Regions from separate parts of the Homo sapiens genome. Here all the other regions are linked to region 4. Evidence: promoter capture Hi-C in 16 types of primary human blood cells and fetal thymus (Javierre and others, 2016). All regions are on one chromosome and are shown on one strand. Each heading gives the region's core, a stretch centred on a gene start or on the middle of the fragment in contact. The rest is flanking DNA. Distances are from core to core; before and after follow the strand shown. Region 1 has its middle 120 kb from the start of RTL3. Region 2 has its middle 68 kb from the start of RTL3. Region 3 has its middle 87 kb from the start of RTL3. Region 4 holds the start of P2RY10 (P2Y receptor family member 10).

Region 1 (7,106 bases), core at 413-2,912, 410 kb before region 4:
AGTTTAATTCTGAAGAATGTCAAATTGGTAGGTTTCTGTAGGCAAAAACAGGCAGTCTTTACTTTCTGCCAGCATCTGTCCCTGGATACTAAATATAAAGCAGAATGTGGTAAAAATTTTCTCATTGACATTATATTACACTTGAGGATTGAATTTATGACCAAAACATTGACACTGAATAGAGCTTATACTTGACAATCAGTATGTTAGGAAAAAAAGATACTAGAAACCTTTCTGGTTTTCAAAATAGAAATAGTATAAATGAGTATATAGTGTGCACATTTGACTATAAAATGTCAAAGTGTGTGAAGACATATATACTTAGTACTAAAATTTGTATTCAATATCAGAAATGTGACCTACAAGAAGCTTTCACAATTTCAGATATTCAATTATGCTTAAAATAGAACCATTCATTCTTTCACTCAACAAATATGTATTACTTACTATATGAAAGAGAGCATCCTAGGCTCATGTCATGGAACAAAACAAAAATCTCTGCTGTTGTGAAGCTCATATCCCAGTGAATGGAATGGAAAATAATTACACAAGTGAAATATGTAGTATGTAAGGTGGTGATAAGTTCTACAAAGAAACAAATAAAGCATGAAAAAAGAGTATGTAATAGTGAGAGGAGGCGTACATTTAAATTTTATATAAAGTGGATTAATTGAGAAGGAGAATTTTGATTTGAGTGAATTTCTGAAGAAGGTAAGAAAACAAGACATGAAGAAAAAAGAATATTTCAGATTAGAAGAGCATTAGTTATTATTTAGGCCTTATTTTACAGATTAAAAATCTGAGGCCCAAATTACTCACTCAGGCTGGATTCCTAATTCTGTCTTCTGGATGAGGATTTGTTTCTTGTGAAAAGCGTAATTTGAGCAGAAGCCAGAAATAACAGAAGTTAGTTTTAAATAGCAATATTTTCCTAGTCTGAAGCAATACTGAACAGGAGGTTTTAGCCTGGAAATTTGGGTCTGCTTTTTGTAGTTGAGTTAAATACGATGCTTCTGTAACTCCAAAATGAAGTCTGAGTTGCTGCAGAGAAGTATCATGGTTCTGCACTTATTTATGACAGGTCAAAATGACTTACAAACAATTTGGAGTGTGATCTCTAGTGCTAAGAAAAACAGCAAGAAAAGGCAACAATATCCTATGTCAAAAAATATTTCTGCAATATAGGATCAGGCTCTTAGATGGAAATTCTGGTTGACCAAATTGCCTGTCATGGTTTTTCAAGATTCAGATCTGAGACCAAGACTCTCCAGTGATGTCTGAATGTTTAAGATGTTTTCTAATTTAGAGAAAAACCTAGATTATTAAGCATAGTTTTTGCTTTTGGTGCCCTACAATATGTTTGGCATCTTGTAAACCTGGGGATAGCCACAAAGAGTTCATTCTTGGGTTATCTTTGTGATGATCACCTGTAGGCAGTTACTTTACCTTTGATTTTTCAAAAGCCACTAACAAGCCATGTGACCCTGAGACGAGTCCCTTCTACTGTTTGGATCTCAGATTCATCATCTGTACCATCAATAGGGTTGGGCTATAATTTCTAAGAGGACTTACAATACTGAAATTACAGGATTCTGGTTTTATTCAAACGAGAGATATTCTTTTTAAGAAGATTAATAAAAACATACTTTATAATTCCCTGGAAATTAAAAAAAAATACCATACACAGAAACACTCTTCTACCAATGTTGTTTACCCAATTTAGGCCTTTATGTATGTTTTCTTCTGAATAGCTATAATGATTTGCCATTCTAGATCAGTTATTCTTTTTTGTTTTTTTTAAGACAGAGTCTCACACTGTCACCCAGGCTGGAGTGCAGTGGCCTGATCTGGGCTCCCTGAAACCTCCGCCTCCTGGGTTCAAGTGATTCTCCTGCCTCAGCCTCCCAAATAGCTGGGATTACAGGCGCCTGCCACCACATCCAGCTAATTTTTTGTATTTTTAGTAAAGATAGGGTTTCACCATGTTGGCCAGGCAGGTCTCGAACTCCTGACTTCAAGTGATCCACCATCCTTGGCCTCCCAAAGTTTTTGGATTACAGGCATGAGCCACTGCAGCTGGCCTATATCAGTTATCCTTAATAAAAACTTTTCTTGTGATAGTTTGCTGAGAATGATGGTTTCCAGCTTCATCCATGCAAGGACAAAAAACCAAACACCGCGTGTTCTCACTCATAGGTGGGAATTGAACAATGAGAACACTTGGACACAGGAAGGGGAACGTCACACACCGAGGCCTGTTGTGGGGTGGGGGGAGGGGGGAGGGATAGCATTAGGAGATATACCTAATGTAAATGACGAGTTAATGGGTGCAGCACACCAACATGGCACATGTAAACATATGTAACAAACCTGCACATTGTGCACATGTACCCTAGAACTTAAAGTATAATAAAATATATATGTATTAAAAAAACTTTACTTATATCATTCTCTTGCTTAAATTGGCAATGGCTACCCATTGCCAGTAGGACAAAATTAAAAACTCATCTTTTAACTCAAGGCCATCTTCAATTATCTTTCCTGCCTTATCTCTTACCATAATCCGTCACTCTCTAGATACACCAGAATACTTGCCTTTGTTTAAATTTACTATATACTTCTATCACTTTGCTCTACCTTTCACCTGCTAAATTCTTCAGGATCTGCTCAAATGTTAGCCAGTCCCAGGGGCCTTGCCAAATCTCCCCTAGGCCAAATGCAGAACCCTTCCTTTGTCCCACTTCTTGTCATTACATATAATCTCGTTTTGCCAGCATTTCTCACCATCTTCCTTGAACTAGTTACCTGTTTCCTTGCTTCTCTCCATGACTACAGCACAGAGTTTATGCCTTTGTCATTTGCAATACCTTCCCTGACCTCAGCCTCTAGTTCATGTCTTGTATAAAATAGTTCATTGATAGCACATTTTTTAATTCAATTAAATTATTCTCTACATAAGCTTGGCACATAGAGTACTTCCAGTGAACACGAAAGCCTCATTGACCTGGTGGTATTGAGGATCATGGAATTTTCCCCTTTAAGTACTAAAACATTGGAACATTTAACTATTTTAGGTGGCACTCTAAGATGTATTACATTTGTTTTCCTGCTTAAATAAACAGATAAATGGATTTGAACAAAAAAAAGTAATCTTTTTGTTGTTTGATGCAGGGTCCTTAATAGCCACATAAGTGGTGCAATGCTGTTATGCTGTGATCTCCTCTTAGATTGCTTTGTGGTTTGCCTAACTGTGACTCTGGGTTAAACTGATCCACAATTTCAGGTCTCAATTTAATGACACTACCATGTCATTTTACATATTGTCAGATACTGATTTTCGTTGGGTTTATCCATGATCATATCTGTAGTCTTCTGTAACAGGCCAAACTGAGAGATGCTAGGAGAAAACAGATAAAGAAGAAATTTATTTAACTAGAGACATTATGTTTTTGATATAATGCTAAGTCAATTGTCTTTGAGAAAAATTGGCAGACTTGACCATATCTTTATCTTTGGATAGAGACGATTCCTCCTGAATTCTAGTTTTGTGGCTGCATTCCAGATGAGTGAGGTTGTTAGAAGCCTGACCCCCCACTCCCAGATAAGCATTACCCTGCTTGACTGATGAGTGATTCTGCACTACCCAGATATTTCCCATGAATAAATAACATTGTGGAGGTCTAGCTTTTAATTTTCTGAATGGAACAAATGTCACCTTTGTCATCTACCCAAAGCAAGTCCGATAAAATAAAAGGATAATGTTCATTACATTTTCCAAAGCAGCTTCATACTATTTTTTCTAAGCTATATTTCTTGTCTTCTGCTTTGATGTTTCTATTATTTCTCTTTCAACTTTTATTTAGGTTCATGGGCTACATGTGCAGGCTTTTTAATGGGTAAATTTCATGTCTCTGGGATTTTTTATACAAATGATTTCATCACTCAGGTAGTGAGGATAGTACTCGATGGTTTTTCAACTCTCACCCTCCTCCTACCCTCCACCGTCAAGTAGGCTCTGGTGTCTATGTTCCTCTCTTTGTGTACATGTGTGCTCAATGTTTAGCTCCCACTTATAAGTGGGAGCATGCAGTATATGGTTTTCTGTTCTTGCATTAATTTGCTTAGGTTAATGGCCTCCAGGAGCATTTATGTTGCTTCAAAGGACATAATTTCATTTTTTATGGCCAAATTTTTGTTTGCTGGTTTAAATTCCTCTGGATTTTGCATATTATAACTTGGTCACCATTCCATGGATAATCTGGTCACCATTCCATGGTGTATATGTACCACATTTTCTTTATCTAGTCCACCATTGATGGGCATCTAGATTGATATCATGTCTTGGCTATTGTGAATGATGCTGTGATTAACATATAAGTGCAAGTGTCTTATTGATAGAATGATTTATATTCCTTTGGGTGTATACCCAATAATGGGATTGCTGGGTCAAAAGGTAGTTCTGCTTTGAGTTCTCTGATGAATCTTCCAATTGTTTTCCACAGTGACGGAACTAATTTACATTCCCACTGGTAGTGTATAATAAGCATTCCTTTTTTCTGCAACCTTGTGACAATCTGTTATTTTCTGACTTTGTAATAATAGCCATTCTTACTAGTGTGAGTGAGAAGGTGTATTAGTCTGTTTTCATGCCTCTCACAATCATGGCAAAAGGCAAGGAGGAGCAAGTCACATCTTACGTGGATGGAGGCAGGCAAATAGAGGGCTTGTGTGGAGAGTCTCCCATTTTTAAAAAACATCAGATCTCATGAGACCTATTCACTCTCACGAGAATAGCATGGAAAAGACCCACCTCCAGGATTCATTCATTCACTCCCTTGTGGTCCCTCTCACAGCATGTGGGAATTATGGGAGCTAGAAGATGAGATTTGGGTGGGAACACAGAACCAAACCATTTCATTCCACCCCGGCCCTTCCCAAATCTTGTATCTTCACATTTCAAAACAAATCATGCCTTCCCAACAGTCCCTCAAAGTTTTAACTCATTTCAGTGTCAACTTAAAAGTCCACAGTCCAACATCTGATCTGAGACAAGGAAAGTCCCTTCTGCCTATGAGCCTGTAAAATCAAAATCAAGTTAGTTACTTCCTAGATACAATGGGGGTACAGGCATTGGGTAAATATAGCTGTTCCAAATAAGAGAAATTGGCCAAAACAGAGGGCCTACAGGCCCCATGCAAGTCCAAAATCCAACAGGACAGTCAAATCTTAAAGCTCCAAAATGATCTCCTTTGACTCCAGGTCTTGCATCTGGGTCACAATGATGTAATAGGTGGATTCCCATGGCAGCTCCGTCTCTGTGGCTTGGCAGGGTACAGCCTTCCTCCTAGCTGCTTTCACGGGCTGGCATTGAGTGTCTGCAGCTTTATCAGGTGCATGGTGCAAGCTGTTAGTGGAACTACCATTCTGGGGTCTGGAGAATGGTGGCCCTCTTCTCACAGCTCCATTAGGTGGTGCCCCAGTAGGGGCTCCCAACCCACATTTCCCTTTCACACTGCCCTAGCAGAGGTTCTCCATGAGGATCTCACCCCTGCAGCAAACTTCTGCCTGGGAATCCAGGTGTTTCCATACATCTTCTGAAATCAAAGTGGAGGTTCCCAAACCTCAATTCTTGACTTCTGTGCACTCACAGGCTCAACACCATGTGGAAGCTGCCAAGGCTTGAGGCCTGCACCCTCTGAAACCAAGGCCTGACCTATACCTTTTTTCCTTTCAGCCATGGCTGGAGTCGCTAGGACACAGGGCACCAATGCCCTAGGTTGCACACAGCATGGGGACCCTTGGCCTGGCCCGTGGAACCACTTTTTCCTTCTAGGCCTCCAGGCCTGTGATGGGAGGGGCTGCCACAATGGTCTCTGACATACCCTAGAGACATTTTCCCCATTGTCTTGGGGATTAACATTTGGCTCCTGGTTAGTTAGGCAAATTTCTGCAGCAGGCTTGAATTTCTCCTCAGGAAATGAGATTTTCTTCTTTATTGCATTGTCAGACTGCAAATTTTCTGAACTTTTATGCTCTTCTTCCCTTATGAAACAATGTTTTTAACAGCACCCATGTAAAATCTTGAATACATTGCTGCTTAGAAATTTCTTCCACCAGATACCCTAAATCATCTCTCTCAATTTCAAAGTTTCAAAAATCTCTAGGGCAGGGGCAAAATGCTGCCAGTCTCTTTGCTAAAACATAACAATAGTCATGTTTTTTGATCCATTTCCCAACAAGTTCTTCATTTTCATCTGAGACCACCTCAGCCTGGATTTAATTGTACATATTGCTATCAACATTTTTGTCAAAGCCATTCAACAAGTCTCTAGGAAGTTCCAAACTTTCCTTCATTATTCTGTCTTCTCCTGAGCCCTTCAAACTGTTCCAACCTCTGCCTGTTACCCAGTTCTAAAGCCACTTCCACATTTTTGGGTATCTTTTCAGCAAAACCCCACTCCCAGTACCAATGTACTGTATTAGTCTATTTTCATGATGCTGATAAAGACACACCCGAGGTTAGGAAATTTACAAAAGAAAGAGGTTTAATGACTTACAGTTCCACGTGGCTGGGAAGTCATCACAATCATGGCAGAAGGCAAGGAGGAGCAAGTCACATCTTACATGGATGGCAGCAGGCAAAGAAAGTGCTCTTGCAGAGGAACTCTTGTTTTTTAAAACCATCAGACCTCATGAGACCCATTCACCATCACAATAACAGCATGGGAAAGACACGCCCCCATGATTTAATTATCTCCCACTGGGTTCCTCCCACAACACATGGAAATTATGGGAGCTACAAGATGAGATTTAGATGGGGACACAGAGCCAAACCATATCAGATAGTATCTCATTCTGGTTTTAATGTGCATCTTTCTAATCATTAGTCATGCTGACCATTTTAAAATATGTTTGTTGACCACTTGTACGTTGTTTTTGGAGAAGGTCCTGGGAATGTTCTTTTCCATTTCTCAATAGTGATGTTTGTTTTTCTGCATGCTGATTTAAATTCCTTCTGGATTTTGCATATTAGACCTTTGACAGATGTATAGTTTGCAAATATGTTCTTCCATTCCATAGGTTATTTCTTTATTTTTTTGATAATT
Region 2 (7,308 bases), core at 3,062-5,561, 350 kb before region 4:
CTCCAGCTTTGTTTTGTTTTTTTCTTTTTTTTTTCCCATAGGATAACACTGGCTATTCTGGGTCTTTTGTGGTTCCATACAAATTGTAGGATTCTTTCTAAATATTTCTGTGAAGATCGTCATTGATATTTTGAAAGGGATTGAACTGAATCTGTAGATTGCCTTGGGTAGTATGGACATTTAAAAAATATTGATTCTTTTAATCCATAAACATGAAATATTTTCCCATTTTTTGTGTCCTTGTCAATTACTTTCATCAGTGTTTTATAATTTCCATTATATAAATCTTTCATTTATTTGGTTAAGTTTATTCCTAGGTATTTAATTTTATGTGTTGCTATTGTAAATGAGATTACTTTATATTTCTTTCTTGCATTGTTCACTGTTGGCATATACAAATGCTACTGATTTTTGTATATTGGTTTTGTATCCTGCAACTTCACTGAATTTATTTATCAGTTCTAATTTTTTTTGGTAGGACCTTTAGATTTTTCCAAATATATTATCTGCAAACAGTGATATTTTTACTTCTTCCTTTCCATCTTGGATGCCCGTTACATCTTTGTCTTGTCTAATTGTCCCAGCTAGAACTTCCAGTACTATGTTGAATAACAGTGGTGACAGTAGGCATCCTTGTCGTGTTCCAGATCTTATAGAAAAGGTTTTCACATTTTCCACATTCAGGGTAATATTAGCTGTGGGTCTGTCCTATGTGGCTTTTGTTATGTTAAGGTATGTTTTATCTACACCCAGTTTTTTGAAGGTTTTTATAATGAAAGGATGTTGAATTTTAACAAATGTTTTTGAAATGATCATGTAGTTTTATTTTTTATTCTATTGATATGATGTATCACATTGTTTGATTTGCATATGTTGAACCATCCTTACATCCCAGGGATAAATCCACTTTGACTTGATGAGTATTCTTTCTAGTGTATTGTTGAATTTGGTTTGCTAGTGTGTTGTTGAGGATTTTTGCATCAATATTCATCAGAGATATTGGCCTGCAGCTTTATTTTTATGACGTGCCTTTGCCTGGTTTTGGTATCATGGTAATATTGGCCTTGTAAAATGAGTTTGGAAGTATTCCCTTCTCCTCTATTCTTCGGAATAGTTTGAGTAAGATTGGTATTAGATTTTTAAAAAATGTTTGGTAGAATTCAGCAGTGAAGCCCTTAGGTCCTGGACTTTCTTTACTGGGAGATTTTTTATTATGGCTTTGATTTTGCTATTTGTTATTGGCCTGTTCATGTTTTGGATTTCTTCATGTTTCAATCTTGGTAGGATTTATGCATCTAGAAATTTGATATTCCAATTTATTGGTATATAGTTTGTCATAGTAGCCACTGATGATTCCTTGAATTTCTGCAGTGTCAATTGTAATGTCTCCTTTTTCATTCCTGATTTTGCTTATTTGCATTTTTTCTCTTTTTTTAAGTCTGAATAAAGATATGTCATTTTTTAAACTTTTCTAAAAAACAATTTTTTTGTTTCATTAATTTTCTTTGTTTTTTATTTTAATTTCATTTATGTCTTCTCTGATTTTTATTATTTCTTTTCTTCTGGTAATTTTGGTTTGGTTTGCCCTTGGTTTTCTAGTTTTTAAAGATGCATTGTTAGATTGTTTATTTGAAGATTATTCTCTTTTTGATGTTGTCACTTACAGCTATAAAATTCCCTCTTACTACTGCTTTTGCTGTATACTATAAGTTACGATCTATTCTTGAGAATATACCTTGTGCTGAAGAGAAAAATGTGTATGCTGCTGCTCTTGGATAAAATGTTCTGTAAATAGCTATTAGATTATTTTGGTCTATAGTGTAGGTTAAGTCTGATGTTTCTTGATTTTCTTTCTGGAAGACCTGTCCAATGCTGAAATTGGGGTGTTAAAGCCTCCAGGTATTATTGTATTAGAGCCTATCTCTCTCTTTAGCTCTAATAATAGTTGGTTCATATATCGGGGTGCTCCAGTGTTGGGTGCATATATATTTAAAATTATATGATTTTATACTGACATATAAAATACATATCATATATAATAAATGATATAGGTATAATTTTATAATGATATATAAAAATCATATATATTTGCTGATTTGAGCCCTTTATCATTATATAGTGACCTTCTTTATCTCTTGTAAATTTTTGTCTTGAAACCTATTTTGTCTGATATAATATAGTGACTCATGCTTTTTTTATTTTTTATTAGCATAAAATATCCTTTCCATCTCATTATTTTCAGTCTGTGTGTGTCTTTATAGGTGAAGTATGTTTGTTTTAGGCAAAAGATCAAGGGATATATATATATGTATATATATATATATTATTCATTCTATGTCTTTTAAGTGGGAAATTTAGTCCGTTTGCATTCAATGTTATTATTTATAAATAAGGACTTACTCCTGCCACTTTGTAATTTGTTTTCTGGTTGTTTTGTGGTCTTCTCTTTCTTTTTTTCTTTTATTCCCGTCTTCTGCTGGTGAAGATAATTTTCTCTGGTGATATAATTTAGTTTTTTGCTTCTTATTTTTTGTGTATCCATTGTATGTTTTCTGGTTTTAGGTTATCATGAGGCTTGCAAATATTATTTTAGAACCCATTATTTTAACCTCATACCAACTTAAGGCTACTTGTGTAGAGAAACAAACAAACAAAAATAAACTAATAAAAAACTCTTCTCAACTTTGTCCCACTTTTGGTTGTTTCTATTTATATCTGATTGTACTATGTCTTGAAAATATGTTATAGTTACTATTTTTTATTGGTTTATCATTTAGTCTTTCTACTTAGGGTAAGAGTAGTTTACAAACCACAGTTCAGTGTTATAATATTGTGTATTTTTTGTGTACTTACTATTTCCAGTAAATTTTGTACCTACAGGTGATTACTTATGGCTCATTAATGACTTTTTTTTCTGATTGAAGAAATTATCATTTCTTGTAGGATAGCTCTGGTATTAATAAAATCCCTCAGCTTTTGTTTGTCTGAGAAAGTTTTTATTTCTCCTTCATGTTTGAAGAATTTTTTCAGATATTTTATTATATGATATATGGTAACAGTTTTTTTTTTCTTCCACACTTTAAATATGTCATGCCACTGTCTCTTGGCCTGTAAGACTTCCACTGAAAAGTTTGCTGCCTAATGTAACGGAGCTCCTTTGTATTTTATTTATTTATTTTTTCTCTTGCTGCTTTTAGGATCCTTTCTTTATCTTTGACCTTTGAAAGTTTGATGATTAAATGCCTTGAGGTAGTCTTATTTTAGTTATATCTGCTTCGTGTTCTATAACCTTCTTGTACTTGAATATTGGTATCTTTCTCTACATTCGGGAAGTTCTCTGTTAATGTCCCCTTGAAAAAACTTTCTATTCCTATCTCTTTTTCTACCTCCTCTTTAAGGCCAATAACTCTTAGATTTACCCTGTTGAGGTTATTTTCTAGATCATGTAGATCTGATTGTTTTTTTTTCTTTTGCCTCCTCTGGCTCTGTGTTTTCAAATAGCCTGTCTTCAAACTCACTGATTCTTTCCTTCCTTGATTCATTTTGATATTAAAGACTCTGATGCATTCTTCAGTATGTCAAATGTATTTTTCAGCTCCAGAATTTTTGCTATATTCTTTTTAGTTATTTCAACCTCGTTGTTAAATTTATCTGATAGAATTCTGAATTCCTACTCTGTGTTATCTTGAATTTCCTTGAGTTTTCTTAACAGAGCGATTTTGAATTCTCTGTATGAAAGTTCACATGTGTCTCTTCCTTCCAATTGGTCCCTGGTGCTTTATTTAGTTTATTTTTTGAGGTCATAATTTCCTAGATGGTGTTGATGCTGGTAGATGTTTTGTGTCTAGGTCTTCAAGAGTTAGGTATTTATTGTAGTATTCACCGTCTGTGCTTATTTGTAGCTGTTTTTCTCTGGAATGCTTCCCAGCTATTTGAAAAACACTGGATGTTGTGATCTAAGCTATTTCTGGTGTAGGCGGCACCCCAAGCCTGGTAATGCTTTGGTTCTTGAATACTTGTAGAGGTACCACATTGATGGCCTTGGACAAGATTTGGGGGAATTCTCTTGATTACCAGGCAGAGACTTTTGTTATCTTCATTTACTTTCTCTTAAATATACAAAGTTTCTATCTCTGTTCTGAGCTACCTAAAACTGGAGGTGGAGTGACACAAGCACCCCTGTGGCCACCACCACTATGAATATGCTGAGTCAGAACTTTTATTAGTCCATTCTCACACTGCTATGAATAAATACGTGAGACTGGGTAATTTAGAAAGGAAAGAGGTTTAATTGACTCAGACTTCTGCATTGCTGAGGCGGCCTCAGGAAACTTACAATCATGGCAGAAGGCAAAGGTGAAGCAGGTACTTTCTTCACAGGGCAGTAGGACTGAGTGAGTGCAAGCAGGGGAAATTATAAAACCATCAGGTCTCGTGAGACTCACTCACTATCATAAAAACAGCATGGTGGAAACTGCCTCCATGATCCAATTACCTTCACCTGGTCCTGCCCTTGTCACATAGGGATAATGGGGATTACAATTCATGATGAAATTTTGGGTGGTGGAATTCAACTAGTATATGACCTTCCTCTAGGATACTTGACGAGTAAAGGAAGAACACCTCAAGTGCACATGTGTATAACTTCAGTAAACACATTGTGCATGTGACTCCTCCCACATGCTAACAGGTCATTGTGCATATGGACAGCCCACCCCAAGGGAAGAATCAGGGGATAATTAATGCAACCCCAGAAACATGCCAACATATAAGACCTCAAGTCAAAGGTCAAATGACACACTTGACTCTCTCAAGTCGCTCTTTTGGCCCCCTTGCAAGTGTACTTTACTTCCTTTCATTCCTGCTCTAAAAATTTTTAATTAACTTTCACTCCTACCCTAAAACTGGCCTCAATCTCTCCCTCTGCCTTATGGCTCTCAGTTGAATTTTCTTCTGAGGAGGCAAGAATTGAGGTTGCAGCAGACTTGTATGGATTTGCCACTGCTAACACTAAGACTTGCCTGGGTTGCAGTCCTTATGGCCTAGACTGCTTTTCAAGTTTAGAGACAGAGGACACTTTCCCTCTCAGTGGCAAGGTTTGTGGGCATTCAGGATTGGACTTCTGGGATTAGCAATTCTTCTCTGGCTAGGGCTGGTTTAAACGTTTCCTCTTGGGGCAGACATCAGCTGAGTTTGTTCTGGTTTTCTTTTCTGCTCTAATAGGACAGCACTGAGATCCATGCCTCACATTTACTATGTTCTCCCTCCCTCATCACCCAGAGAAGCTCTCTGCACCACAGAGCTGCTGCCTGGGGTGGTGGAGAGATGGCATTGGTGAATCGGGACTGTTTTTTTCTATCTCTTTAGTGTCCTTTTTGGAAATACGAAGTTAAAAACAGGTACTATGAATCCTCACCTGATTTTTGGCTCTTATGGAGGTTTTCTTTTTTCTTTTCTTTTTTTTTCTGGGTAGATAGCTGTTTACTTGGTGTTCTTGCAGAGGGAACAATCCTTGGAGTCTTCTATTCTGCCATCTTGCTCCACCTCTTCCTTTTCTACTTTTTTGATATAGGCATATATTGCTATAAGTTTTCTTGTCAGAACCGCAGTTACCGTATACAATAGTGTTGTGTTTTTTTTCATTCGTTTAAATAAATTTTTAAATTGTCTTCTTAATTTCTTTAGTTATCCACTGTTCACTCAGAAACAATGAAAAAAAATTCCATGTGATTGTATAGTTTTCAAAATTCCTCTTGTCATTTATTTCTAGTTTCATTCCATTGTGGTTGGAGAAGATGCATGGTATAATTTTACTTTTTTGAATGTTTTAAGACTTGTTTTGTGGGTTAATAGATGATCTGTCCTTGAGAATGATTCATGTGTTGAGGACAAAAATGTGTATTCTGCAGCTGTTGTATAAAATTTTTTGTAAATATCTATTAGGTCCATTTGATTCGCATTGCAGATTAAGTTACATGTTTCTCTGTTTATTTTCTGTCTGGATAATCTGTCCAGTGCTAAAAGTGGAGTTTTGAACTCTTCAGCTTTTATTATTTTGTAGTTTGTCTCTCTCTTTAGCTCTAATAATATTGGTTTTATACATCTGGTTGCTTATACATCTGGTTGTTTATACATCTGGTTGCATATATTTGCAATTGTTTTATTCTCTTGCTGTATTGCTACCTTTTTCATTATTTAATGACCTTCTTTGTCTCGTCTTATAATTTTTGTCTTGAAATCTATTTTGTTTGATATAAGTATAGCTACTCTTGCATTTTTGGTTTCTGTTTGCATGGAATATCTTTTCCTATCCCTTTATTTTCATGCTGTGTAGGTTGTTGGGGCTTGTTTTATTTAATTCATTCAGTCATTCTTTGACTTTTTTTTGGAGCGTTTATTCCATTTACATTCAATGTTATAAGTAAGGACTCACGTCTGCATTTTCTTATTTGTTTTCTGGTTCTCTTTTGGTCTTCTCTTTCTTCTTTTCTTCCTGTTTTCCTTTGAGGAAGATGATTTTCTCTGCTGGTATGTTTGAGCTTCTTGCTTTTTATTTTTTGTCTATCCGTTGTAGATTTCTTTATTGGAGGCTACCATAAGACTTGCAAATAACATCTTACAACCCATTATTTTAAACTGATGACAAGTTAACACTGATTGTGAAAACAAAGAACCTAACAAACAAGCAAGAAGAAAACTAATAAGTGTGTGCTTTACCTTTGTCTCCTTGATTTTTCACTTTTTGTTCTTTCTTTCTATACCCTATTGTACTGTATATATCTTCAACAGTTGTTGTTATTATTATTTTTGATTGGTTCATTTATTCACCTTTCTACTTGAGATATGAGTACTTTACATACCACAATTACAGTGTTATAATATTATGTGTTTTTCTGTGTACTTATTGTTATCATCAGTGAGTTTTGTCCCTTCAGATGATTTTTTATTGCTCATTAATTTCCTTTTCTTTCCAAATGAAGAATTCCCTGTAGCATTTGTTGTATGATAAGTCCAATGTTGATAAAATCACTCAGCTTCTGTTTGTCTGGGAAAGTCTTTATCTCTCCTTCACATTTAAAAGATGTTTTCCCCAGGTATACTATTCTATGGTAAAAGTATTTTTCCTTCAGCACTTTAAATATGCCATGTCACCCTCTTCTGGCCTGTAAGGTTTCTATTAATATGTCTTCTGCCGCATGTACTGGAGCCTTTTTTTGTTATTTGTTTATTTTCTCTTGCTGCTTTTTGGATACATTCTTTATCATTGACTTTTGGGAGTTTGATTATTAAGTGCCTTGAGGTGGTCTT
Region 3 (7,380 bases), core at 2,554-5,053, 370 kb before region 4:
ATAGTACTGGAAGTCCTAGCCAGAGCAATCAGACAAGAGAAAAAAGTAAAGGAAATCCAAATTGAAAAAGAGGAAGTCAAAGTGTCAATGTTTGCTGATAATATGATTGCATACCTAGAAAACCCTAAAGACTCCTTTAAAAAGCTCTTAGATCTGATAAATAAATTCAGTAAAGTTTCAGGATATAAAATCAATGTACACAAACCAGTAGCACTGCCATACACCAACAACGACCAGCTGAGAATCAAATCAAGAACTCCATCCCTTTTACAACAGCTGCAGAAAAATAAAATACTTAGGAATATACTTAGCTAAGGAAGTGAAAGATCTTTATGAGGAAAACTAAAAAACACTGCTGAAAAAAATCACAGATGACACAAACAAATGGAAACGCATCTCATGCTCATGAACAGGTAGAATCAATTTTGTTAAAATGGCCATACTTCCCATACCAATTTACAAATTAATGCAATTCCCATGAAAATACCATCATCATTCTTCACAGAACAAGAATAAAACAATCCTAAAATTCATGTGAAACCCAAAAGAGCCTGCATAGCCTAAACAATACTAAGCAATTGCATTCTTTAAGCTATTTAAAGATATATAATAAAGTTATTACAGACTGTGTAGTCACTCTTGTGCTATCAATAGTAAGCCTTATTTATTCTTTCTATATTTTTTGTACCCATTAACCATCCCCACCTACCCTTCAGCCCGCTACTACTCTTCTCAGCCTTTGGTATCCATCCTTCTACTCTCCATGTTCATGAGTCTGTTTTTATTTTTATTAGAACTGATAAACAAATTCAGTAAAGTTGCAGGATACAAAATCAACATACAAAAATCAGTAGCATTTCTATATGCCAGCAGTGAACAATGTGAAAAAGAAATTAAAAAGTAATCCCATTTATAATAACCACATGTAAAATTAAATACCTAGAAATTAACTTAACCAAGGTGAAATATCTTTACAATGAAAACTATAAAACCCTAATGAAGGAAATGACCAAAAAATGAGTTTTCTATTTTGTTCCACTGATCTGTGCATATGGTTTTATGCCAGTACCATGCTGTTGTGGTTACTGTTGCTCTGTAGTATGATTTGAACTCAGGTGATTTCTCCAGTTTTGTTCTTTTTGCTCAGAATAGCTTTAGCTTTTCAGGGTCTTTTGTGGCTCCACATAAGTTTTATAGTTGCCTTTTCTCTTTCTGTGATGAATGTCCTTGATATTTTGATAAAGACTGCACTGTACCTATAGATTGCTTTGGGCAATATGAACTTTTTAACAATACTGATTATTTCAATTTATGAACATAAAATATCTTTCCATCTTTGTCCTCTTACATTTCTTTCATCAGTAAATTATAGTTTAATTGTACAGGTATTTTAAGTATTTGATTAAGTTATTTCATAGATATTTAATTTTACTTGTAGCTATTGTAAATGGGATTACTTTCTTGATTTCTTTTTCAGATTGTTTGCTTTTGGCATATTAAAAATGTTGTCAATTTTTGTTTGTTCATTTTGTATTCTGTAACTTCCTTGAATTTGCTTATTAGTTTTAATTTTTTGCTGGCATCATTAGATTTTTTCAAACATAAGATCCTATAATCTGCAAACAGGAATAATTTGACTTCTTTTCCAGTCTGGATGCCCTTTATTTTTCTCCCTTTCTGATTGCTCAAGCTATGACTTCCAGTCCTATGTTAAATAACAATGGTGATAGTGGTTATCTTTGTCATGTTCCCTATCTTAGTGGAAAAGCTTTCAGTTTTTCCCCAATCAGTATGATACTAACTGTGGGCCATTGTATATGACTTTTATTTTGTTGATGTAAGCTCCTTCTATACCCAGTTTTTTGAGGTTTTCTTTTTCAATCATAAAGAAATGTTCAATATTATCAAATGGTTTTTCAGCATCAATTGAAATGATCATGTGGTTTTTTTCCTTCATTGTGTTGATATATCACATTAATTAATTTGCATATATGGAACCATCCTTGAATCCCTGGGATAAATCTCACTTGGTTATGATGAATGTTCTTTTTAATGTGTTGTTGAATTCAGTTTGCTACTATTTTGTTGAGAATTCTTGCATCAATGTTCATCAGAGATTTTGGCTTTTTTTTTGATAAGTGTTTGGTTTTGTTATCAGGGTAATACTGATCTTGTAGAATGAGTTTGGAATTATTCCATTTACCTCTATTTTTTGGAATAATTGGAGTAGAATTGGTATTATTTATTTAAATGTTTCATAAAATTCAGCAGTGATGACATTGTGTCCCAGGCTTTTGTTTGCTGGGAGACTTTTCATTATGATTTCAATCTTTTTACTAGTTACTGTTCTATTTATGTTTTGGATTTCTTCATGGTTCAATCTTGGTAGATTTTATGTGTCTGGAAATTTACCTATTTCTTCTAGGTTTTCCAATGTGTTGGCACATAGTTGCTCATAGTAACCTCTATAAACCTTTGAGTTTCTGCAGAATTGGTTGCAATGTCTCTCTTTTAATCTCTGATTTTATTTATTTTGTCTTCTGTCTTTTTCTTCTCAGTCTGGTTAAAATGTTTTATTATTTTTATCTTTTGAAAATACTTTTTGTTTTGTTAATCTTCGTATTATTTTCTCAATTTTAATTTTCTTTATTTCTTCTTTGATCTTTATTTCTTTTCTCCTATGAATTTTCTCTTTCTGTTTTCATTGACCCACTGGTCATTCAGGAGAATATTGTTTAAATTCCATGTGATTATATAGTTTCCAAAATTATTCTTATTATAGATTTCTAGTTTTATTCCATTGTGGTCAGAGTAGATGCTAAATATTATTTAATATTTTGGATGTTTTAATACTTGTTTTGTGGCCTAACATAATAGTTTATCTTTGAAAATAATCCATGTGTTGAGAAGAATGTGTATTCAACACCCATTATATGAAATGTAAGTCTTTCTACATCTATCTCTTTCTTTACCTTCTCTTTAAGTCCAATACCTCTTAGATTTGCCCTTTTAAAAATCTACTAGGCGTGCCTCATTTTTTTTTGTTTCCTTTGTGTAGTTTTAAATAGCCTGTCTTAAAGCTCACTAATTATTTATTCTGCTTGATCAGTTCTGCTATTAGGAGACTCCGATGCATCTTTCGGTGTGTCACCCACATTTTTCACCTCTAGAATTTCTGCTTGATTCGTTTTAATTATTTAAATTCCCATGTTCGATTTATCTCCTGGAATTCTAAACTTCTTCTCTGTGTAATTTTGAATTTCTTTGAGTTTCCTGAAGACAGCTATTTTGAATTCTCTGCCTGAAGAGTCACCATATCTATGTCTCCCCAAGGTTTGTCCCTGGTGCTTTATTTAGTTTATTTTCTGAGGTTATGTTTTCCTGGATGGTCTTGATGCTTATGAATATTTGGTGATTTGGGGGCATTGAATAATTAGGTATTTATTGTAGTCCTCAAAGTCTAGGCTTGTTTGTACTCATTCTTCTTGGGAAGGCTTTCCAGGTATTTGAAGGGACTTAGGTGTTGTGATTTAAGTTTTTGGGCACTATATCTGTATTTCCATTAGTGGCACCCCAAGCCCAGTAACATCATATTTCTTGAAGATTTGTACAGGGACCACCTTGGTGGTCTTAGATAAGATCTGGAAGAATTTCCTGGATTTCCAAGAACAGACTTTTATTCACTTTCCTCACTTTCTCCCAAACAAACAGAGTCTCACTCTCTTTGCTGAGCTGCCTGGAGCTGGGGTGAGGGATAACACAAACATCCCTGTGGCCACCCCCACTTGGACTGTGCTGGGTCTGATCTGAAGCCTATACAGTACTGGACCTTGCCCGAGGCCTGCTGTAACTACTACCTGGCTACCACCTATGTTTGTCCAGGGACCTAGGAGTCTACAAATACCAGGTGGTTAAGCCAGTTAATCTTGTGTCCTTCCCTCCAGGAAAGCAAGTTCTTCTAGGCCCCTGACAGGTCCAGAATTGCCATCTGGGAGCTACTGCCTAGAGTCAGAAACCTTTGATTTTACCTGGTGCTCTATTCTATTTTGGCTAAGCTGGCACTGAAACCACACGACAAAGTTTTTCTCAGTCTTTCCTCCCATTTCCTCAGGCAGGGGTGTTTCTCACCTCTTCCACCACTACCACCAGTCCACAGGAAGTACTGCCAATGTTTCCTTAAAGCCCAAGGGCTTGTCAAGCAGTTTTTGCTAGGTCTGTGACTCACCTTCACAGCAGCAGCAGTGGTCTCCCCTCTTGCCCAGGGAAAGTCCAGAAATGCCATCCAAGATCAAAGATGTGGAATTGAGTACCCCAAGAGCGCACTTGGTGCTCTTTCCCAGTGTGGCAATGCTAGCGCCTAAGTTGCAAGAAAAAGTTGCCTTTATACTTCCTTCTCCTTTTCTCAAGCAGAAGGAGTCTATCCATCTTCATAGCCATCACAGCTGTGAATATGCTTGGTTACTCCTTATTCCAGCATCTCTCTGAGTCTCACCCAAGGCCCATGACATGTATTCTCTTGTTATCGGTGCTGATTATTCAAGGTCCAATGAGGGCTTTAATCAGCAGGTAACAAATCCTGTCAACTCGGTCCTTCCTTTCAAGAGAGCAGATTCCCTTCAATTTCAAGGTGTGTCTAGAAATGTCATCCAGGAGTTAGGGCTGGGAATTGGGGCCTCCTGTCTCTGCTTAGTGCCCTATTCTATTGTGGCTGAACTGGAATCCAAGTTGCAAAACAAAGTCCACTTCACTCTTCCCTCTCCTCTCAAGCCGAAGGAAGGGTTTGCTTTTGGAGCTGATGGCTGCACCTGGAGTTTGGGGAGGGATGATGTAAGCACTCCCTTAGCTGCCCTGGATAGTGTCTCGCTAGGTCATGTGACTCCCCTAGTCCAGCGCAGCACTATGAATTGCTTAGGAATTGCAGTCCTTCTGGCCTAGACAGCTTTTTAAGTTCATTTAGGATCCTAGAGTGCTTTAGCTCACAGCGGTGAGGCTTACCAAAACTCAGGTTTCAACTGCTAGGATGAGCAATTCCCCTTTGTATAGGGCTGGTCTAAATGCTCCCTCCACAGGCATCAGCTGAGTTCTTCCCAATGTTGTTAGCACTGCATTGCAATGTAAAGTTCCACATTCATTTTGCTCACCCTCCCCCAAATGCACAGATTCTCTCTCCATGCCATGAGGCCACTGACACCAGGTCGGGGGGTGGGTGGTGTTGGCAATTCAAGACTGTCCTTCCTACCCTCTTCAGTGCCTCTTTCAGTGATATGAAGTTAAAATCAGGTACTGCAATCTCTCATCTGATTTTTGGTTTTCATGAAGGTGCTTTTTGAATAGGTGGTTATAAAAAAAATTGTATTCCTGCAGGGAGGATGATCAGTGGAGGCTTCTATTTGGCCATCTTGCTCTACCTCATTCTGCATTTTCTTGTATGTACATTTTACTATTCATTTACCCCCATATATTCTGCCTGCCTGAAAGAGGCTCTATGGCTTCCTTCTTCAGTCAGCCCTCTTAGTAACCTAATTTCTCTCAGACTTCAGCATTTTTGTTCTCCTCTCTCAGCAGTGCTGCTTTCTCAGGCTTTTTCCATGTACCACCTGTTTTGACAGCTGGGGACTAAGATTAACTGAGGGGAGTGTGGTGTTGCTGGAAGAGGCTGAGTACACATAGATCTTTGGCCTAAGTCCAGTCAGCATGGCTGTAACTAACCAGATACCACCAACCCAACACCTTGTAGCCTAAAGTTTACTCAGCGATAAATAACAGCTTGGGAGCCTGGCAATGTAATCCAGCGGAAGAAACATTGGAGTGGCCTTAATCTCTTAAGTCTCTTTTCTGCAAGCTTCAGTTGAGACAAAGATTTCATATGTGACTTTTGACAAATCACTTTCCTTTCTGCACTTCAGTTTCCCCATCATGTATACAGAATTTTTAAAACTTGGAGTCAACTTGACCTGATGTCAAATTGGCTCTTCTATAAGTTGCGTGATCTTAGCTCCAACATTTTATAATTAAGTGCGGACAACAAAGAGCAAGGCCCAGGGGTACTGATACTAACAAGAAGTCCTGGGGGTTGAGAGTAGGTTAGTATCAGGAGAGAGAGAAAAAAAACCTGGAACAAATATCACCAGAAAATACGTGGTGAAATGACAATAGACGTGGGAGAATAAAGGGCTGTGGATAAGAATGGACTAGGACAACCTAGCACCAAAACCAACATTTTATTGCTTTGTGGTGTTGTTCTGGCCTATGATAATACTTTATTATCCAGAGCCTTGCAACATCTCACCAGACTTCTTACTGCTATCTTCCCTGCCCAACCACCACCTGTTTCCGCAATTCCTTCTGCACATGACTTCAAGGTTTGATTTCCTGAAGTACAACCTCATTCATGTCAAACACTTCCTTAACAATATCAGCCTTTGGCTTTTTATTGCTTACAGAAAAAAATACACCCTTTCACCTTGCATTCAAAGTCCTTCATGATCTGCTCTCAACTAGTTTCTGAATTGTAGACACTTCTACCCTACAAGTATTGAATTAACAAGTGACATTGGATTCTTTTTCCTTCAGCATGTAGTGCCTATGCTCACTTTAGTGAAAAATCCTGTTCACCCTTTGTGGTCCATTTCAAATGGCCTTGTGGTGCTCTACTCTCTTCTGCATCTTTGGAGTACTTTGCTAGTACTCTTTAATAGGCAGTTTCCTTATTTTGACGTGTGTCTTTTGATATTTCTATTTTAGACTTCTCTTGCTTAGGTGTATATTTCCGGAGGGTAGTAGCTTTATATAATTCATATCTGCATTTATTTCCTCCATTCAGCCCCTACAGCTGTGCCTAGTATAATGCTATGTACATTGTGACTCAACAAATACTTATTGAAACAAATTTACTGTTTTGAATATCTGTTCCCTCCCAACTCAATTCTTATTTGTTCTGTTTTCTAAGTAATAGAAAAGGATTTTGAGCAATAAGACTTTTAGGAAGCTATTATCTGGAAGGGTACTTGGATAGCAGTTCTAAGAGTATATTCCAGCTTTAGCCTGATTTTGATCCCTGTTGAAACCTGCAAATCCCTTAATATACTGTGGATAACTAAGAGAAGTGTTGGAAAACAACTGAAATAGAGTTTACTGAGTTACAGCAAAGTCTATTGGAATTAGAATTAGGACAAAAACCATGACTTGCTTTCAGCTGTTTTATATATTTCCCCTTCTATTCTTCCCACACCTAGGTTCTAGGACCTCCACACAACAAGCCTGCCTATTGAAAGATGACAGGCTGATAGGGTTCCAGAGGTCGTGTCTATGCTGTACCTTTCACTGTACCATTATTCCAAAGGAAATCGTAGTACATGTTATTCCTACACTTCTATTCTA
Region 4 (7,725 bases), core at 349-2,848:
GAATAGTATGGAGGAAACTGGAGGAAACTGCCCCCATGATTCTAATGAACTGCCTTCAAGTCCCTCCCACAACACGTGGGAATTATGGGAGTACAATTCAAGATGAGATTTGGGAAGGGATACAGAGCCAAACCATATCAATAATTAACACTCAAAATTTACCTGAGTTAAAATTTTTCATTTGAATTGGGACACTGACTTCTGGTTTTATTTTTCTTCCCTTTTTAGGGTCAGTGACAGAAGAAGCTGCTTGCGTGCAAGACAGAAATGAAGTAAACTGGTAGGTTTCCTTCTCGCAATGTGAAGGTTTTGTCTGTGAAATAAAGTTGGGATGTGGTGATCATAGCCAGTTGTAAGAAAAGGATTTCTTGTATTTCTGGATCCCAGGGTTTGCCTTCAAAGCTCAACAGGTCTGGAATTTTTTTGTTTGTTCAGAGAAGAATCTTACCCTAGGAAAACTGGCTCACACTAACCATAGGGAGGAACACAACTGCCAAATGGACTGAGATGTGTGTTGGTCTGTCAGTGTATTCTCTTTTCAGTAGGGATGCCAATTCAGAAACCTAAATTAACAAAAGATAGGAGCTGAATAAACATTTGAAATCAAAATTAAGAAGGGGATTGAAAGGCTAAACTTGTTTCATTTGACATACATCAGCCAGGATGATGCCAGTCTTCACAAGTTATGACATTTCCATCAATCATCCCAAGCTCTTAGTTTCCAATACTGTCAGCTTCTCTTTCCCTTACACGCCAACAGGGGTTTGTGCTGCATTTTAAACCTCGTTTCTCAAAACTACTCTCAGACTTAGTTGACACTGTAGTCCTCAAGTGTATGATCTTCCTGTATTCACATAGTTTTGAAGGCCCCATATACACTGTACATAAAAACCAGAATTTTAGTACACTGGAGGGAGACCCCGTAATCAATAATGTTCATTTACTTATTCATGCATTCTTTGAGCATTTGTTTATTTATTAATTCCCATATGTATTCATTCAATAACAATTCATGAAAATGCCTTGTGCTGGACAAATTGGGAATACAGATATGAATCAGACATGATCTTTACCCTCAAGCAGTGTGCAGTCTAGTAAAGGGATAATAAATATACAAAAATAATGAAACTATGTGTTAAATTGTGAGCCTCAAGATGAAGGGGTTGGGAGAGGGGCACTCCAGATGGAGGGAACAACTTAAGCAAAGGTACTTCTACTGTTTCTAATTTTGACTTGTATTTTTTAGGTTTCCTCAGCCTTTGCCCCTCAGGCTTGCACAAGCTGTAGCTTTCTTGTTACTAGGTAAACACTCTTTAGATTTTCCTGAAAATTTCATCTTACCATGGAACCTACTGGAATCAGTGAAAATCTAGATATGTCGGTTGTCAAGGAAGGAGATAGGGTGAGGAAGGCTGTTATATAGCCATTGTGTGAGTATGCATAGCCTCTGACTCCCTGCTATTTGAATTTCTCTGCACCAATGAAATAAAAAGAAATAAAATTTGAGTAACGTCATTTGCTCAAGGGACTTACCTTTCATTTGTGCAAATAAGGTTTCTGTGGTGAGACACCAGATAAACTCAACTTCCTCTTTCAACAACAAATGTGTCAGTTATCAGCAGGATCCATGCCGCCAGAGTAAAGCTTTCTACCCTTTACTCCCTGCAAAGAAACAAGAGTGCTTATCCCAGCTAAGCTCCAGGGTAAGTTAATGCCTAGCACCTGGGGATTGGTGGTTTCATGTGGGAAGATTGGTGTGATCATAAAAATCAGAACAGAGGTGGATGTGGGGCCAGTGTCTGTATTAAAATTGTCACTGGTTTCTCATCTCAGACATCTTACAACAGGAGCAAAGATAATTACTGTTGAGTTTGACCAGAGTCCAAAGTTAACGTTAATGCCATCAGTCCTCTTCATTATGCCAGGAGCATGGAGTCTGTGATGCAGCTCACTCTTTGATGAGGGCTCTTTAGAGAGTGGGACCAGAGAAGATGGCACAAAGTGGTAAGAAGAGTATATTCAGTGAGACTCATTGGGACAACTTGACATATTCGGCCAATAAAAGTCAATTTAATTTTTTATGGTGTATAATTTATCTAGCTGCATCGTGAAGGAAGATTTTTGGGTATAAAATCCTTGCTTTGGAAAATTTAGCTTTCAGAGATACTGAGACAAATAGTAGAAAGCAGGGTAATAGATTCTGGGGGCTGAAAGGGCCCATAGAGATCCAAATCCCTCACAATACAGTCAGGAAAACTGAGAGCCAGTGAAGTGAAGACACTTAGGTTCACTCAGCTTGTTAGTGGTATAGGTGGATCTAGGACCTGTGTCTTTAAACTCATGTTTGCCTTTTCCTACAGCAGTTTGCATCTCCCAGAGAATACTGTAAATTTATTTGTGACCCTGCCATTTTTTAGGATAGGAAAGGAGAAAGTATCCCAGATGACTTCAGAGTCTGGTCAGAGTGGTTCCTTGATCCTTTGAAAGCTAATTTTGACCGAAGTTCAGCCTTACTGGATAGCAAAGCCCATGAGTGAGGCACTCATTTTTTCAGTTATTATTGCTATTACTCTGAATACTAGCACCTCTCTCCTTCTGAGCTAAGATGACTAAATCAAAAGGAGACTTTCAGCTAAGGAGTCCCTGAAGGGAGACTGTGCCAAATCATTTGGAACCAGGATAAGGCTGGATAGAATGATACCAGATTTGGCTGTGCTTTCCAGGGGAGTAGGCTCAGTTCCAAGAATCCTGCAAGTGAGAATATTTTTATTTCAGTTGTTCAAATGGATGTGTGGAGTCATTATGATGTATATTAATTGGAGAATCTATCTCTTAGCAATTGCAGCACAGTAAAATTAACCACTTATGAAAGTAGGTGATATGCAGATATACTGAGGTGGAAAATGGTGTAAACTACAGTCAGAATCAGATCACACATTTGGGGCAATTGTTTTTGCAATGGTTCCTGTTGAACACAGATTCTTTGGCCAAATGCAGTTTATTTTGGGGCTCAACTGGGAAAGTTGTAGAGTTCAAGTTGTACAGACTACTCAAATCTGAAGACATCAAATGAATAAACACATTTATGGGTTGTTTTGGTTTGAAATAAGTGAGTTGGGGTTTTAAAAGACAGGCCAGCCTGCTGGGCTTGGTGGCTCACGCTGTAATTCCAGCATTTTGGGAGGCCGAGACAGGTGGATCACCTGAGGTCAGGAGTTCGAGACCAGCCTGGTCAACATGGCGAAACCCCGTTTCTACTAAAAAATACAGAAATTAGCTGGTTGCAGTGGCAGGCGCCTGTAATCCCAGCTACTGGGCAAGCTGAGGCTGGAGAATCGCTCGAAACCGAGAGATGGAGGTTGCAGTGAGCTGAGACTGTGCCATTGCACTCCAGCCTGGGAGACAGACCAAGACTCTGGCTCAAAAAAAAAATAAAAAAAAGATAGGCTGCCTATCTATACTATAGCTCTCTGTCATGGCTCAAGCAAAGAGAACAAAGCTGTTTATAGTAAAATGAGACTTTCTAAAAGCACTAACAATCAGGGCAATGGTTCCCCGGTGGTCTATGATTTATTTTAAAAGCTTTTGGCAAAAAGGTTTATTTATTCTTCAGATCAGTATATTTTGTGGAGAAGTTTTCTCCTAGTATCAGTTCATATACATCACAGGTAGAGTGATCAAATAGATAGATCAATACATAAGGAGTCAGAAGTCTGTGTTATAGTTCAAGTTCTGCCAATGACTGGTGTGGCCTTCGGTGAGTTATTTCATTTCTGTGCATCTCAATAATCTCATCTATTATAATGGGAGAGGGCTTGGAATAGATGGTTCCTAATTTCCTTCCTAGCAATCCAATGATTTGAGTTAGACTGTTAGATACCTAAGAATAGTTAAATGTTATGGAGTGGTGAATAATGGGGCCATAATAGGGAAATCTATCTAGAGAGGACATTCTGGAAATGTAGTTCAGATCTCCAAGAGAACTGAGTATCCTTTCCCAATTGCCATTATATTTCTTTCAGGTAATGTTATCATGACAGCTTCAACTTTTAGACCACAGGCAAATGCTTTGTAAGTAATTTCCCTTTTTTAAAAATGAGAAAATGCAAGACAAAAGATAAAACTTTCTGAAATCTAATTTCCACAGTGACAATGACACTCAGTTGGCATTTCTCAATCTTTTAAACCCAAGGTTCCCTTTGAGAAACGTAAACATTTCACTACAAGGTTACTGTGAACTTGCCTTCCTAGGGACCAGACCCTGGACTTGTAGAAAAATCTGCTCCATCACATTGACATTTTCCAAGTACTAAGTGCCCAACAGTTAAGAGGATTTTGTAGATCTGTACTTTCACAGTTTGTATTGTAGAAACAATAATGACATTTTTTATTTTGTTTTCCAAATATATTTGTTATAATAAGGAATATGTTTTATCAAGTAACACTTATTTTCTACCCTTTAACTTTAAAAATTACTGCTCTAGATATTCTAGTCCTCTGCTACAACTACACTTCTTAGGGGATTTTCTAAATCCAGAAATGTACAGGATCCAACCAAAGGCCCTTGGAGATGACTCTGTGTACAAATAAAGAGGAAATGAACTCACATTTATTTAATACTTATTGGGTATCAGACATGAAAATAGGTACTTTTACACACATTTTCTTTTTTTCATTTCTATTTCAATATTTTTTGAACTACAAGTGTTTTTTTCTGTTGCATGGGTAAATTATATAGCAGTAAATTCTGAGATTTTTAGTGCACCCACCACCTCAGTAGTGCACGTTGTACCTAATGTGTAATATTTTTATGCCTAGCCTGTCTCACCCACCCTCTTCTGAGTCTCTAGATTCCATTATATCACTCTGTATACCTTTGCATAATCATAGCTTATCTGTCACTTATAAGTGAGAACATCTATTTTTTTTATTTTTCACTCCTGTGTTACTTTACTTAGAATAGTGGACTCCACCTCCATCCAAGTTACTGCAAAAATACATTATTGCGATCCTTTTTATGGCTGAGGAGTATTACATAGTGTATATACACCACATTTACTTTATCCACTCGTTAGTCAATTGGCACATAGATTCATTCCACATCTTTGCAATTGTGATTAGTAGGATTGCTGTATCAAATGGTAGATTTACTTGTAGCTCTTTAAGGAATCTCCATACTGTTTTCTATAGAAGTTGTACTAATTTACATTTCTACCAGCAGTGTAGAAGCTTTCTCTTTTATCCACATATCTACCAGCATCTATTTTTTTTTCACTTTTTAATAATAGCCATTCTTGCAGTAACGTGCTATTTTATTCTGGTTTTAATTTGCATTTCTCTGACGATTAGTGATGTGGAGCATTTTTTCGTGTTTGTTGGCCATTTGTATATCTTCTTTTGAGGAATCTCTATTTATGTCCTTTGCCCACTCTATAATGGGATTATTTCTCTTTCTATTGCTGACTTGTTTGAGTTCCTTGTAGATTCTAGTTTCTAGTCCTTTGTCAGATGCATAGTCTGCAAATATTTTCTCTCATTCTGTGGGTTGTCTGTTTACTCGGATTATTATTTTCAGACACATTTTTCTTTAATGCTCAAAACAAATTATGTGGCAGGAACCATTCTAATTTTACAAAAGAGGAAACTGAAGCCTGGTGATATGAAGTGAATTGTTTCAGGCCAGAGAACCGACAATTGAGACATGATATGATACCAGGTCTTCCAAAGAACATGATTATTTCCACCCATAAAATGCTGCCACAGCTGCAAAAATGATATCTAATTAGGCCGCCTTCCTAAATGATTGAAAGTCCAATACATATTCCTGCATGAAAGTTCAAATTCAAACTTTAAGTTGTTGTTTTGTTAATGGTCTAATTGCTTTAATTCATTTTAAGGATAAAAATAATTTTCACTTCCTCTAACAGAAGAAAATGTCTGTACTTGCAGAATGTGTCCAAATTTGTGTGTATCTCATGTCAACCAGGCTTATTTGGAGTTGATGTAGATTTATTCAGGAAACAGCAGAGTTTCCAATTCTAGCTGCTACTCTTTGGTTCTGGTTGTAAGCGGCTGAATGAAGAACACCGGGGTCATGGAGATCAGATTGGCTTGGATAATTCATGTGAAATTTAGTGGTTAAAAAATAAAAGAAAAAGGTAAGATGAGGCAAAGCAAGTTAAGTTCCCAGATGACATGTAAAAGTTATCCTCTAGAGAGTGGGAGGGGCCCCCATCAGCAACTTGTTTTCTCTGTTTAATTTTTTCTTCCCCTCCCAGGATGACAAGCCCACAGACAGGCTTCAGCATCAAATAAAATGGAGAAGTAAATTTGATAAACATGTTTACTTAGTGGTGCCAGTGACTTACTGATGAGTGGTGAAAAGACAGGGAAGATTGAGAGTGAAGATTTATGGAGTTGGTACCAGCTGCATAAATGGTGGCAGTGTCAATGGTGATGATATTAGTTAGGAGCAGGGTTCAGAGGGGGAATTCTCATGAAATCATACCAAATGAGAGCTAGAAGGGAGTTAAAGGTCATCTAGTTCAAATCATATTATTTTAATAATGAGGAAATGAAACTCACAGAAGGGAAAGAGCGTATCAGAGCAGCACAAAGAGTATATAAAATTACTGAAATCCAAGTATCTTAGCTACAAATCCAGTACACCTTTCTATATATTATACTGCTTTTGAGTCTTCTGTATCCTACAGCAAGTCTTGTCCTATTCAGATCACTCCTGTTGTAAAGAAATTGTTCCATTACTTCTATCTACAGATTTGTTATAATTTGAATTCATAAGCACAATTCCATAAAGAACGTTGGTTTTGATATAATCCTATCCTGACACCTGGTGGGCAGCAATTTGCCATATATGCATAGTGCATATGCATAAAACTGCTAGAACTAGAACCGAAAACAATAGCTTTTTTATCTCTGAGGAACAGTCTTATCCACAGAAATACCACTTTAAAATATGTTTCTGTCCATATAATAAGTTATTCAGCTAAAAATAACTTTAGCTTTCTGGGCTTATGAAAAGCCTTATTAAAGCTGAAATCATAACTCTGACTGCAGAAAGTCACTTACTCCTGCTGAGACTCCATTTTCTAATCTGTAAAGGAGTATAATAGTAATTAACTCAGAATTCTTACAAAGATTAGAGGTAACGTGAATAGCACTTAGCTAGTTACTGACAGGATGTGGAAATTTCCTCACTGGGACTTAGGAAACTAATATAAATTCTGATGCCATAATAATATAAGCTCAGTTTGGCTGTAACTTTGTGAAAACCACAACGTTGAGCTAGTTGGTTGGGAAGAGCAGCTGCTTTTGGGTAGATGGTATTAGTATCTAGTAAGATTTTGGGCTCAGCTCCAATGAATCATATTTAAAGACCTTCCATACCTTTGTATTCTGAGAAAACATTTAGTTGTTTCCACAAAATAAAGTTTTCAGTGATCAAATTCCTAATTAAGTTTAAGGGATTCCTGTTGGATTTCAAAACGAAAGCTGGATTGCCTTCTTTAAAGCTCTTAGGTGTTCAGATTTCTTAGACTAAAACCTTATTATTCTTGCTTTGACCACATTTTCTTCAGTAGCAGAAAGGAGAAAGATTATGGCTGTTGTTTAGGAGAGTGTTTCATGGGAGAGACTTTACAAGTAAAAATGCCTAATGCTCTGCTAATATGTGCCTATGCTCTGTAGTCTTACCTTCTCACAGTG

The links. Contacts are between HindIII fragments. The CHiCAGO score rates a contact against its expected background, and 5 or more counts as called.
Region 1: a contact is called between a fragment that was not itself captured here and the fragment with the promoter of P2RY10 in region 4, in 5 of 17 cell types (total CD4 T cells, activated CD4 T cells, non-activated CD4 T cells and 2 more). The highest score is 7.3, in total CD4 T cells.
Region 2: a contact is called between a fragment that was not itself captured here and the fragment with the promoter of P2RY10 in region 4, in 1 of 17 cell types (megakaryocytes). The highest score is 5.3, in megakaryocytes.
Region 3: a contact is called between a fragment that was not itself captured here and the fragment with the promoter of P2RY10 in region 4, in 3 of 17 cell types (megakaryocytes, activated CD4 T cells and M2 macrophages). The highest score is 8.2, in megakaryocytes.

What each region holds. Positions count from the first base shown.
Region 1 is chrX:78,533,508-78,540,613 of GRCh38, forward strand. No RefSeq gene overlaps it. Among named protein-coding and RNA genes, the nearest start is that of RTL3, 120 kb to the right of the region's middle. The HindIII fragment of the contact is 2,590 bases long and covers 368-2,957 here.
Region 2 is chrX:78,588,020-78,595,327 of GRCh38, forward strand. No RefSeq gene overlaps it. Among named protein-coding and RNA genes, the nearest start is that of RTL3, 68 kb to the right of the region's middle. The HindIII fragment of the contact is 9,536 bases long and covers 1-7,308 here.
Region 3 is chrX:78,568,175-78,575,554 of GRCh38, forward strand. No RefSeq gene overlaps it. Among named protein-coding and RNA genes, the nearest start is that of RTL3, 87 kb to the right of the region's middle. The HindIII fragment of the contact is 4,074 bases long and covers 1,767-5,840 here.
Region 4 is chrX:78,943,793-78,951,517 of GRCh38, forward strand. It overlaps P2RY10 (P2Y receptor family member 10), which reads left to right and starts at 1,599. Exons shown (of 4, transcript NM_014499.4): 1 at 1,599-1,703; 2 at 4,023-4,071. The HindIII fragment of the contact is 3,107 bases long and covers 1-1,642 here.